Linked DNA regions of Homo sapiens: all the other regions are linked to region 1. The links are contacts of gene promoters, found by promoter capture Hi-C in blood cells and fetal thymus (Javierre and others, 2016). All regions are on one chromosome and are shown on one strand. The core of a region is centred on a gene start or on the middle of the fragment in contact, and the rest is flanking DNA. Distances in the headings are between cores, read along the strand shown. Region 1 holds the start of EI24 (EI24 autophagy associated transmembrane protein). Region 2 holds the start of SIAE (sialic acid acetylesterase). Region 3 overlaps FAM118B (family with sequence similarity 118 member B). Region 4 has its middle 13 kb from the start of RPUSD4.

Evidence for each region. The method cuts DNA at HindIII sites, captures the fragments that hold promoters and counts their contacts. A CHiCAGO score of 5 or more calls a contact.
Region 2: the fragment with the promoter of SIAE here is called in contact with the fragment with the promoter of EI24 in region 1 in 2 of 17 cell types (non-activated CD4 T cells and naive CD8 T cells); the score reaches 6.5 in non-activated CD4 T cells.
Region 3: a contact is called between a fragment that was not itself captured here and the fragment with the promoter of EI24 in region 1, in 2 of 17 cell types (activated CD4 T cells and total B cells). The highest score is 6.2, in activated CD4 T cells.
Region 4: a contact is called between a fragment that was not itself captured here and the fragment with the promoter of EI24 in region 1, in 2 of 17 cell types (naive CD8 T cells and total CD8 T cells). The highest score is 5.4, in naive CD8 T cells.

The regions. Positions count from the first base shown.
Region 1 is chr11:125,568,128-125,570,865 of GRCh38, reverse strand. It overlaps EI24 (EI24 autophagy associated transmembrane protein), which reads right to left and starts at 1,389. Exons shown (of 11, transcript NM_004879.5): 1 at 1,293-1,389. STT3A-AS1 (STT3A antisense RNA 1) reads left to right here. Exons shown (of 4, transcript NR_132372.1): 3 at 424-576. RefSeq lists enhancers at 672-721, 1,224-1,725 and a silencer at 1,162-1,721. The HindIII fragment of the contact is 1,677 bases long and covers 705-2,381 here.
Region 2 is chr11:124,672,361-124,675,098 of GRCh38, reverse strand. SIAE (sialic acid acetylesterase) reads left to right here and starts at 1,360. Exons shown (of 10, transcript NM_170601.5): 1 at 1,360-1,457. The coding sequence starts at 1,391. SPA17 (sperm autoantigenic protein 17) reads right to left here and starts at 1,195. Exons shown (of 5, transcript NM_017425.4): 1 at 1,147-1,195. RefSeq lists an enhancer at 1,085-1,264 and silencers at 1,174-1,332, 1,305-1,424. The HindIII fragment of the contact is 8,074 bases long and covers 1-2,738 here.
Region 3 is chr11:126,217,117-126,219,854 of GRCh38, reverse strand. All of the region lies in intron 1 of FAM118B (family with sequence similarity 118 member B), which reads right to left. Among named protein-coding and RNA genes, the nearest start is that of FAM118B, 6.7 kb to the right of the region's middle. The HindIII fragment of the contact is 1,119 bases long and covers 787-1,905 here.
Region 4 is chr11:126,196,924-126,199,661 of GRCh38, reverse strand. No RefSeq gene overlaps it. Among named protein-coding and RNA genes, the nearest start is that of RPUSD4, 13 kb to the left of the region's middle. The HindIII fragment of the contact is 5,671 bases long and covers 1-2,738 here.

The DNA of each region.
Region 1 (2,738 bases), core at 140-2,639:
AGATAACTAGCAAAGGCTCAGTGATATGCACGACACTAGTTTGTAAAGACTCACAGATCCACTCCCGTAACCTGCCACTGGCTCATCTATAAATTAAGGGTACTAAACTTCTTCATAGGTTTCTTGCATCTAATAGGGCACAACAGCATGAAAAAAACTTAAAATTCTATATAAACACAACCCCACCAAAGTGAGCCAGCTTGGAGGTTTAAGGAAGCCCATTACTTGGCCTGGATTTCTCACAGGGAACTGACAGGGAACCTGAAACATTCTGTCTCAGTCCACAACAGCTGTGTCATTTGATCCCTGGCCAGCTAACACCTGGTTTCTGCATGTACCAAGTGGCAGGACACCTCCTAAGAGTGACCTATGAAGGATAAATCACTTCACTTTTATACTTAGATCCTAACATCCTTCCTACAGGAATATTTGGTGAATTACCCAGTCTGACAAATAGCTGAGGCATGGGGAAAAATAACCTGCCACAATTTGAGAACACACACACAGACTGAATGACACAGGGGGAATCCTACAGCTGAGCTAGACAGATGAAGATGCATCTGGCTCATTTAACAGGTGAGAGAACCCAGTCTCAGAAGTTAAATGACTTGCCCAGACTGACAGCAAATGAATGGCAGCTACAGTGAACCTCAGAACCCGGTGTTCTAACGTTACCTCGGTCGAGACTTGTTTTTACTTAAGCTTTGCAATGAAGATTTTTGTTTTAACACGAGCATCCCATGGACAAATAACCTCTCAAACCTGGAAATACAAATGCCATTAAATTCCCAACAGTCATTAGAAGCTAATAAGCATCTGCTGAGACACACTTTTATTTCTAAGTCACTAAACCCAAGTCTCGGCAAACAGGAAGCTGTCGTAGCCCACTCCAGGTACAGGGAAGGTAAACATCCTCACTTCCCACGGGGCTCCACGGGCTGCCTCTGAGTCCACGGGTCCATTCAGGCCCATCTCCCCACAGCTCCTAGGCAATTCGGCAGAAAACTGGTCTCCCTAGGCACAACTGTGCACGAGGTACGGATCACGCGAGGTGCGGATCACGCACGCTCCGGGTCACACAGGGAGCTAAAGATAGCTGCGCCGCACCTGGGGCAGCCTCGCCCGGGGATGTGCCCGGCCCCGTCCCGCTCCCTCCGGCCCCTTCCCATAAGGGGTCCTCGCCGGTAGCCCCACCAACCCACGCTCGGGCCCTGCCTGCCCTCCCGGTCCCTGCCACTCAGAATGGGCGGCGCGGCGGCCCCGAGGCCTAGCTCGGCTGAGCCCGCACCTACCCACAGCTCCGCCGCCGCGGCTCCGGCCCTGCCCCTAGCCCACCGCAGGCCAGCTCCGCCGGGGCGCTTCCAGGGCCGGGGCCGCTGCGCCCGCACTGGGCATGCCCGGGCCGCACGGGGCCGCTGGGAAGTCGGGCGAGCGCGAAGAACCAGCCGGCACCACGAGGCGGGGCCCAGAGCCGAAGGGGTGGGCCGCGCGGAGCGACGGAGACTGGGAAATGTAGTCAGTCCGGGGTCCCGCCTCGCGCTGCGTGCGGGATCGTCCGGCTCCCAACTCCGCCTGGCGGCGGAGAGGACCCCTCACCCCTCCGCGTCGCCTCCTCCCCGTCGCCTCCTCGCCGATCCCGTTCTCACAGATCTCTCCTCCTGTTCTTTGCCCTCCCCCATTGACTCCACAACGCTGCTTGCGTTTCTAAAATCCTGTGAAATTAGTAACAGGATGCCTTTAATCCCAGCATTTTGGGAGGCCAAGGCAGGCAGATCACGAGGTCAGGAGTTCAAGACCAGCCTGGCCAACATAGCGAAACCCCATCTCTACTAAAATAACAAAAATTAGCCAGGTGTGGTGGTACCTGCCTGTGGTCCCAGCTACTCAGGAGGCTGAGGCAGGAGAATTACTTGAACTCAGGGGATGAAGGTTGCAGTGAGCCGAGATCACACCACTGCACTCCTGCCTGGGCGACTGAGCAAGACTCAGTCTCAAAATAATAATAATAATAATAAATTTAAAAAATGAAATAAAATAAGTGGCTGGGCACGGTGGCTCATGCGTGTAACCTCAGCACTTTGGGAAGCTGAGGCGGGCAGATCACTTGAGGCCACCCTGGCCAAGATGGTGAAATCCCGTCTCTACTAAAAATACAAAAAATTAGCTGGGCATGGTGGCACACACCTGTGGTCCCAGCTACTTGGTCGGCTAAGGAATGAGAATCACTTCAATTCAGGAGGCAGAGGTTGCGGTGAGCCGAGATCGCACTACTGCACTTCAGCCTGGGTGACACAGCTAGACTGTCTCGAAAAATAAAATAAAATAAAACAAAACAAAACAATATAAAATAGAATAGAATAAGGAATCCATCTACTAAAGCTTAGAAATCTTGTTACAAAGAGACCTAAGTGGTTTAATGACAAACTGATTATTGTGCTATTAATTATAATAATAGCTCTTCCTCCAAGCTCTATTCTTTCTCAAGAGTGTCAATTTAGAAAAGATTTTAGAAAGAATTTAGTAGGTATGAGTTTATTCTGGCTTACTTCATGGGAGGAAATCTTTTTTTTTTTTTTTTTTTGAGACTGAGTCTGTCTTTGTCTCCCAGGCTGGAGTGCAGTGGTGCGATCTCGGCTCACTGCAAGCTCCGCCCCCTGGGTTCACGCCATTCTCCTGCCTCAGCCTCCTGAGTAGCTGGGACTACAGGCACCTGCCACCAAGCATGGCTAATTTTTTTG
Region 2 (2,738 bases), core at 111-2,610, 900 kb after region 1:
ATTTCTTCCAAAGAGTTTTGAAATCTCCATTGTGAATTAGTATAATACAAACACAGACCCATTCACTAGGCCAAATCATTTAAAATCCTGCAAAAAACCCATAATTTTCAATATGACTTTTTCTCTCTTTACCCTTTATATGCTCAAAAGGTAAGGGTAATTTTTGCTATCACACAGGAATTTAGAGAGAATGATTGCTAAAAAGTTAAATTCATTGTCAATTGCTGAGAAGACCTTCTTTGAGGTCTATTTTTTTTTAAAGAGTAGAAATTAGTCCTGGTTCTAGAAATTAATTTGTTGAATGAAGAAGTTGCACAATCTTTCCCCTTGCTGCCACTTCTGAAGCATGACCCACAATGCTTCGAACACCTTCGTACTGTGGAATGGGGTTGTGCGTGCGTGTGTGTGAGGGAGGGATGGGATGGGATGGGGCTGTGTGTCATGATTTTGAAATCCCAGCCTCTAAAGTTTTAGAATTCTTATATTTTTCGGTTTCTTCTTGATCAGGTTGTCTCTTTCTGTCTTGAAATACAAGGGCTAGATTAAGGGTAGCTGCTAAGCAGCGGGCTGAGCTACTACTGAGTATGAAAAGAATCCTCCGGGACCTGGCCTGTTAATGTGAGAGTGTGCGTCAATGCGGAATAGAGGCGGAGGCCGTGGTAGGGGTCCAGGTTGGGAGAACTGGACGGTTTAATGAGGCTCAGACTATGGAGGGTTCTCGTTTCATCGCTTTTTTTTTCTTTGAGAGGGGGTCTCTGGCCTCGAACTCCTGGGCTCCAGCGATGATCCCGCCTCAGCCTCCCGAGCAATTGGGATTACAGGCGCGCGCCACCACGCCTGACTCCTCTCTTTTGCTTTTTCTGAGGGAGCAGTAGATGGGGGTATCGAACCATTCTAGAGTGGTGAAAAGAGCTGGCGAGATTCTGAACCAATGTGGGCAGAGGAGGGCGGGCGGAGGGGGCAGACGGGTCTAGTCGGGGGCGGGATGTTGAGGACCTGGGATTTCAGACTCGCGCAGAATGGGCTGCCTCGGCTCCCAAACGGCCCAGGGCTCCGAGGCTGTGTCTGGGATGCTGAGAGAATAAGAGAGACGAAGGGAAAAGGCTAGGTCTTGGTATCGGAGAGGAAGTGGGGAAGCGGCCTCACCTCCTTTCTCTCCGAGCTGGTGCCGCCGGTTCCGGTTGTTTTTCTAGTTGCTGGGTAACCGTTTTTTCTTTAAAAAAAAAAAAAAACTACGGCGGCCGAGAAGGGGCGAGTACAGCCCAGTCCTGAGGTCGCGGGAGGCTGCGAGGACTGCAAAAGGGTGGAGTCGGCCTCGCCCCCGCCCAGGCCCCGCCCCTGCCGGGAACCCACTTTCCCAGTCCTAGGCGGCGGTCAGATCCTTGCAAGCATGGTCGCGCCGGGGCTTGTACTCGGGCTGGTGCTGCCATTAATCCTGTGGGCCGACAGAAGTGCAGGTGAGGCGGCCCGGCTCGGCCGGACCCCTGCCCCTCAGCCTGTGCGGGCTCCGAGACCCCGTGTCCTCTGCGGGACACGGATCCGCGCCCCTTTCTCAAGGTCGACGAAGGAACCTAGCTAGGCTAGGGGCTCGCGTCTCCGACCGAGGCCCGGTCTGCAGGAGTCTGCTGGGTTGAACCCCGGCCTCTCCACTTTCTCCACCCCCCACTTACCATCCCTGACATGCAGCCTGTGAGCAGGGAGAAAGTGCGGCTTGTCTGAGTGGGGAGGCCCAAATGTGCCCAGAAAGAGGCCTTCGGGGTCCTGGAGTAACTGCAGGGGAGCTCGGAGGGAAGGAGGCGAAGCTAGTTAGGTAATATTTGGAAACAGGTGACTGAATCTTCCAAAACATTTCAGCGCTACCCCCTCAGTGGTGCCCTTGGGGAGGGTTTGCTTCAGGCGGGGTTCCTTAGGGGAATTAAATTTTACTCGTTTAAGTGGTTATCAGGGCTAAGAAATACAACCCCCTCACTAGCTCTGACTATTTAAGGCTCAGTTTTGATTTCTGGTACCGCTTACAGATATTGGTGGTGGGAAAATGTGAGTGGCATAGGGGAGGCTGGTGGCTCCCTTTGGCTGTTGCGCAGGTCAGATCTTGCCATTCGAATACCCTAGGCTGGACACTGGGTCACAGTATGGAGAAAGCAGAAGGTGCAATCTGTCTGATAATGCAAACTAAAGTGATAATGTTGGATTTCTTCCTTTCTGTTTCAAAACACTCAAAGAGTGGACCCCAGAGATCCCTGTTAAGAAATGATAGTTGGGGTAGGAGAACAGCGTGCAGAAAAATGACTCCTGCTCTACCTGAGAGCCGGAAAAGTACCTAGATTCAGACAAACTGCAGCCCATAAATGATTGTTCAGAGTCTAACAAAAGTGCAAAATGCTAGCACTCTGTATGCCATTTCCTGACTCTTATCTCCACTCAGTGACCTTTGAGATCCATCTTATGAGGTGGGGAAAAGATATTTTATTAGGTTTTCAGTTAAAGGCTGTTTATTTTAGTGTCAGTATTTTATCTCCTCCTTTGGGTCTTATTGTTACATCACCTTCATTAACATTGATCACATTTTTCATTCATTAGTACTCTACTTGGTTGCGTATCCTGACGTTTTTCCTTTAAGTCATTCTCCCTGTGCCCATGTTTACCATGTAATGCTTGAGATGTACAAAATTATATGTAACAATGACACAATAAAATGAACACCCATGAGAGCAGTACCCAACTTAAGAACTAGAACA
Region 3 (2,738 bases), core at 97-2,596, 650 kb before region 1:
GTTAATTTTAATAAGTACAGTAGTGCATGTTTTCTGCAGTAGAAGAAAGAAAGAAGCAGTCTATTTCTAGTGGCTGGGGGTAGGGAGGTGCTGGGGAAGAGCAGGAACCTAGGAAGAGTCAGCAGAGGGTAGCCACGCCCCAGCCCCATGGACGAGACTCCTGAGGAATCCATAAAACTGCGAAGTACTAAGTTCTGGCAACAGATCTCAAACCTGCTCCTTAGCAAGAGAGCTAAAAAGAGAGTGTTTCTTATGTACTCTGTTAATTTGACTCTTAAGGCATATAAACAATAGGGAGACCCTGTCTCTACAAAAATAAAAAACTTAGCCAGATGTGGTGGCATATGCCTATGGTCCCAGCTACTTGGGAGGCTGAGGTGGGAGGATTGCTTGAACCCAGGAGGTCGAGGCTGCAGTGAGTCATGATCATGCCCACTCCAGTCTGGGCAACAGAGAGAGACTCTCAAAAAAAAAAAAAAAAAAAAAAAAAAAAAAAAAAAAAAAAGATAAACAAGAGCTGAAGGATAAGCTTCCAAAATAAACGAGGAAAACAAGAAATCTGTGCTTTTCCTTATGTGATATTCCTGTGCTGCATTCCATGACACTAAGAATATAAAACATGATAACTTCTGTCCTTACGTGTTTACTTCTTAATCTTTTTCAAAGTACGCTATTAAAATGGCAACAGAGGAGTTTTTCTTTTTTCAAGGTATAAAACCAAGAATGTGAGGTGCAGGAGATAAGCATTCAATTTTTCAATGAATTTTTGGAGATGGAAAGCAAGCTTTAAATGCAGATCTGAAAATACGGATTGGCATAAAGTCTATTTAACTAATGCGCAAATTCTCTTCCTCACCTCCTATTTTCATCTATTTTCTCCACCCCCAAATCCAGAGGTTTAAAGAAAAATGAACCGAAATCTGAAATGGGTCTGGAGTAAAATACATCAGCAGGAGCAATGAAGAACTGAAAATACAGATTATGTCAAAAGATGCATACTAAAAGGTTCTCCAAGCCTCCATCCTTGTCCCAGCAACCAATGCACTGTCAGCTAAAGAAATATTAGCAAACATATACATTTGTACAAACATACACACAAAATCCATATATACCAGCCACCCTATAGTAATGGCCACCACCCAACAAGACCCACGCTGGGAACTTAAAATAACAAAAAACAAAACAGAAATGAACAGTCAGAATCATGAGACATTCAAAGAAATCCCACAATAAAATAATTCATTTATTCCTTAAGTTATTAAGCATCTATTCATCGCCAGGCACTGTTTCAGAGGCTGGAATTATAGAGGTAAACAAAAAAAAACCCAAAATCCCTGCCCTCATAGAATGTTTATTTTAGTGGTGAGGGAAACAAGTAAATAAATATGTGGGATGCTAGATGGTGGGAAATGCTTCTGGAGAGAAACAAAGCAGGGAAGTGAGATGGGGGTCTGCACTTCTCAATCCAGTGCTCTCTTCACTGAGGTGACATTTAAGGAAAGACTTGTGGATTCATCCAAAGTGAGGTGTGGGAGCAAGTCGCTGGATATCTGAGGGAAGACACATCCAGACAGAGGCACAGGTGCAAAGGCCCACATCACCTGAAGGAAGTGGAGCCTGTGCAGAGAGGAAGAAAACTCAAATACTCCAGCGGGCCCTCTGAGCCCACCATATCCACATAACAAGAATGGATATTACAAAAAGGTATCAAAGAAAAATTAAAGATTGAGCAAAAAATCACAGAAATAGTACAAGAAAACATCCCGGAACTAGAGGACGTGAATTTCCAGAATCAAAACCGTCTGTGAGAAGCCAGCACAACAGCTGAGTAAAAGACCCATACCCTGGTGTTAATACACATCATAAAACTGCAGAACACCAGAGATAGAGAATATCCTCAAAGCTTCCAGAAGGGGAGAAAACAAACAAAATACGGTCACGTAAGAAGGATTTAAATCACCACATCTCTAGAGCAATTACAGATGCCTTCAACATTCTGAGAGAACCTTATTTCCAATCTAGAATTATATAACTGCCAAACTATCAAACAAGTGTGTGGGCAAAACCAGGTCATTCAAATACTTCTTAGAAATAACTGAAGTATATGCTTTTAAAAAATAAAGACATAAGCCCAGAAAGAGGAAGATACGGTTCCTGCACAGGAAAGGGCAGGTCCAGGAGGACCCCAGGCAGCAGTTCTTGAGAGCAACAGTAAAGGCAGGAGGAGGGGGCAGGGCTCCAATAAACAGGTGATACATTTGAGCTCACAGAAAATGTTACTGATAAGAATGTGACAAATACATTGGAGCATGTGGGAAAAAAATTAACAGTAGGTACATGAAAAACACAGGTGAAGGCCAACCTACACACCAGGAGGAACACACTGTAATAGATCATCCAGCTCAACAGTGAACAGTATTTGACAGAGGTGTAAGTACATAAAAGCTACCTGTTTTAGCAAAAAATTACAATAGAACTATATTAGGGGATAGAGGGCATGGAAAAATAGGAAAGTGGTGGGATGCAAGAGCTAAATACAAATCTATCACAACAAGAAATCAACAGGCCAAACATGAGGGGAAAACCAAGAAAGAATAACAAACCAACTATTTAGCAACAAGAAGATACAGCAGACTCTCAAAAAAAGTCTTTTTGTTCAACATCGTTTTTTCATAACATTGATGAGAGAATAAGTGATTCCTGGCTGAGGCTACCCGTTTGTGTGGAGTTGGCATGCT
Region 4 (2,738 bases), core at 105-2,604, 630 kb before region 1:
AAGTTCTTCCTTTTCTGTGTTTTCTTAGGCCTAAAGAAAGGATTAACATTTCTCTGATTCTTAGTGGGATCTGGACTGCCTGAGCAGCAGGTCTTGCTAGGTACAGTGGCTATCTTTTTTTTTTTTTTTTTTTTTTTTTTGAGACAGAATTTCACTCTTGTTGCCCAGGCTGGAGTGCAATGGCGTGATCTCCACTCCCCACAACCTCTGCCTCCCGAGTTTAAGCGATTCTCCTGCCTCAGCCTCCCGAGTAGCTGGGATTACAGGCATGTGCCACCATGCCCGGCTAATTTTGTATTTTTAGTAGAGATGGGGTTTCTCCATGTTGGTCAGGCTGGTCTCAAACTCACAACCTCAGGTGATCCACCTGCCTCAGCCTCCTAAAGTGCTGGGATTACAGGCATGAGCCGCCGTGCCTGGCCCAGTGGCTATCTTTAATTACTGACAATAATATAAGAGGAATTTTACCCCAGGTTAGTGTGGCCTGAGAAATGGGTTACACAGCAAAGGAGGTTGGAATGTGCCTAAAATGAACTGCATCTATTTTGAAATACTGATTAGAGCCAGCTAAAAGATATGATTTAGTGTTAAGTCATATACAGTAATTAGTATAAGAAAATGGGCTTCTTAAATTTCTATTTTTATCAAAGTTCTATGTGCACATGATTTAAAAAATCAAGAACTATTCTGCTCAAATGACTCTGGTTAAAAAAAGAATAAGAAAAAATCAAAATGAAAAATCAAGAACTAAAGGCTTGCCATGAAAAGCAGCAGCTCCTTGCCCACGTAGGGATTTTGTTTGCTGTGAGCTCTGGGAGGTGCTTGTGCTCAGCAGAGGGGGGAGGCCGGCTCTCCCAGTGCCCCTTCTGGTGGCAGCACTGGCTCTTCTGCTCCAGGAGGCAGCTTTTGGGTAGCTGGTTTTTTTCTGTGCTAGGCATGCCCAACCTAATAAGCCCACAGAGCACTTTCTCAATCCTCGTATCACACGTCTTTGCATTTGATAACCGAATTGCCCACTCTGAGCTCCTCACTCGCTTTGATTCCATGAACTCCTCCTGCATCTCCTTGTCTGACCTCCTTCCAGGCTCCTTGAAGGGCCCCAGCATGGTGCCCCCCAGAGCTCCATCTTGGCATCCTGCCCCTCTCCCAGAGGGAGAGCTGGGCCAACTTGGGAAGCCTCTACCTGTGTGCTGACGACTCGCTAGTCTGTCTCTGACCTTGATCTCCCCCTTGAGCTCCTTATCTTCACATCCATCTGCCTGTGATCGTCTCCCCTTGGGAGCTCCCTCTCCGGGCCTGTTGCTCCTGTCCTCTTACCTGCCTTAGTTTAGATGGCATCACCAGAGACCTGGGAATCACCCTTAACTCCTCCCTCGCACCAGTCCCCAAATCCAATTAGCCACTAATTCTTTGCCAGTTCCATCTAAAACCCTTCTCTTAAAATGCACTTCCCTCTTTAATTCTAATATCTCCTGAGCACCAATTTCACCGTCCCCACCCTTCAGCTATGATGGGATAGGTCTGGGAGGTGGAAGGGCATAGTGGGTTAGAAATAGGATCATAGGCAACCTGCTAGTTCCCACCAGAAACCAAACTCACAACGGGGTGTTGAGACCATCCCCAGGTTCCTGGGGATAGAGCAGTGTGGGAGGGGGTACCTGTTTTAAACAAGACAGGCAAATAGAGCAGCCTCCCACCATGTTTTCTAGGTCTGCTCTCCTTGGCTCTCTGGACTGCTTTTAGCCAGAGTGCCTGGTAGGATATACAAAAACATGGCCTCCTGCTTGTGCTTGTGCAAAGCATGCCATGTGGGTGCAGACAGCTTCTCCCAGTGCGGAGCAAAATCTGCTGGCTCAGGGCAATGTAATTCAAACACCAGCTACCCAGCGTTAGGCCAGATGTCACAAGTTAATGGCACATTCCACAGGACTTGCCTCACTTCAGACACCAGCTGCAAGCTCTGGGGTTTTCCAGCCACCTGTACTTCTGACCAACTAGCTATGAATTCAAGAGTGTTCACAAACCCCTCAGGTTTGATCATTCACTAGAATGACTCCCAGAACTCAGCAAAGCACTAGCTATGCTTACTATTATGGTTTTGCTGTAGCAATAAAATGATATGAATCAGGACCAGCTAAAAGAAGAGATGCATGGGCAAGGTCTGGGAGAGTCTCCAGCATGAAGCTACCGTGTCCTCTGCCCACCGTGTCACCCTCCCAACACATGGATGTGCATCACCAGCCAGGAATGTCACCCAAGCCCTGGTGTCCAGAGTTTTTATTGGGGTTTCATTATGTTGTCGTGGTTGAACAATTGGCTACATTGTTGAACTCGGTTCTGCTGGGTTCAAAGTGCCAACCCTCTAATCACATGGTCGGTCTTTTTGCATGGCCAGCCTGAAACTACCCATCCTGAAACTAAAGCCCCACCGTGAGTCCTCACATTTAATAGCGTAAACTATTAGGGCTCATCATGAATAACAAAAAATGTTAACATCACTTGGGAAATTCCAAGGATTTAGGTTCTCTCTCCCAGGAACCAAGGACGAAAGCAAGGCAAATTATTATAGAACTCTGAGTTTTCCTCTCCATCCCCCACTCCCTTAGGCGTCTCTTGATGTCCTCTCTTAGGGATCCCTTCATCTTGCTGTCCCCCAGCGAGTGACCAGCCTAGGTGGCTGTCTGCATAGATGCCCCTGTTGGTTGTGGCCTTAGGATCCTTTCAGGCAAGAAGCCTTG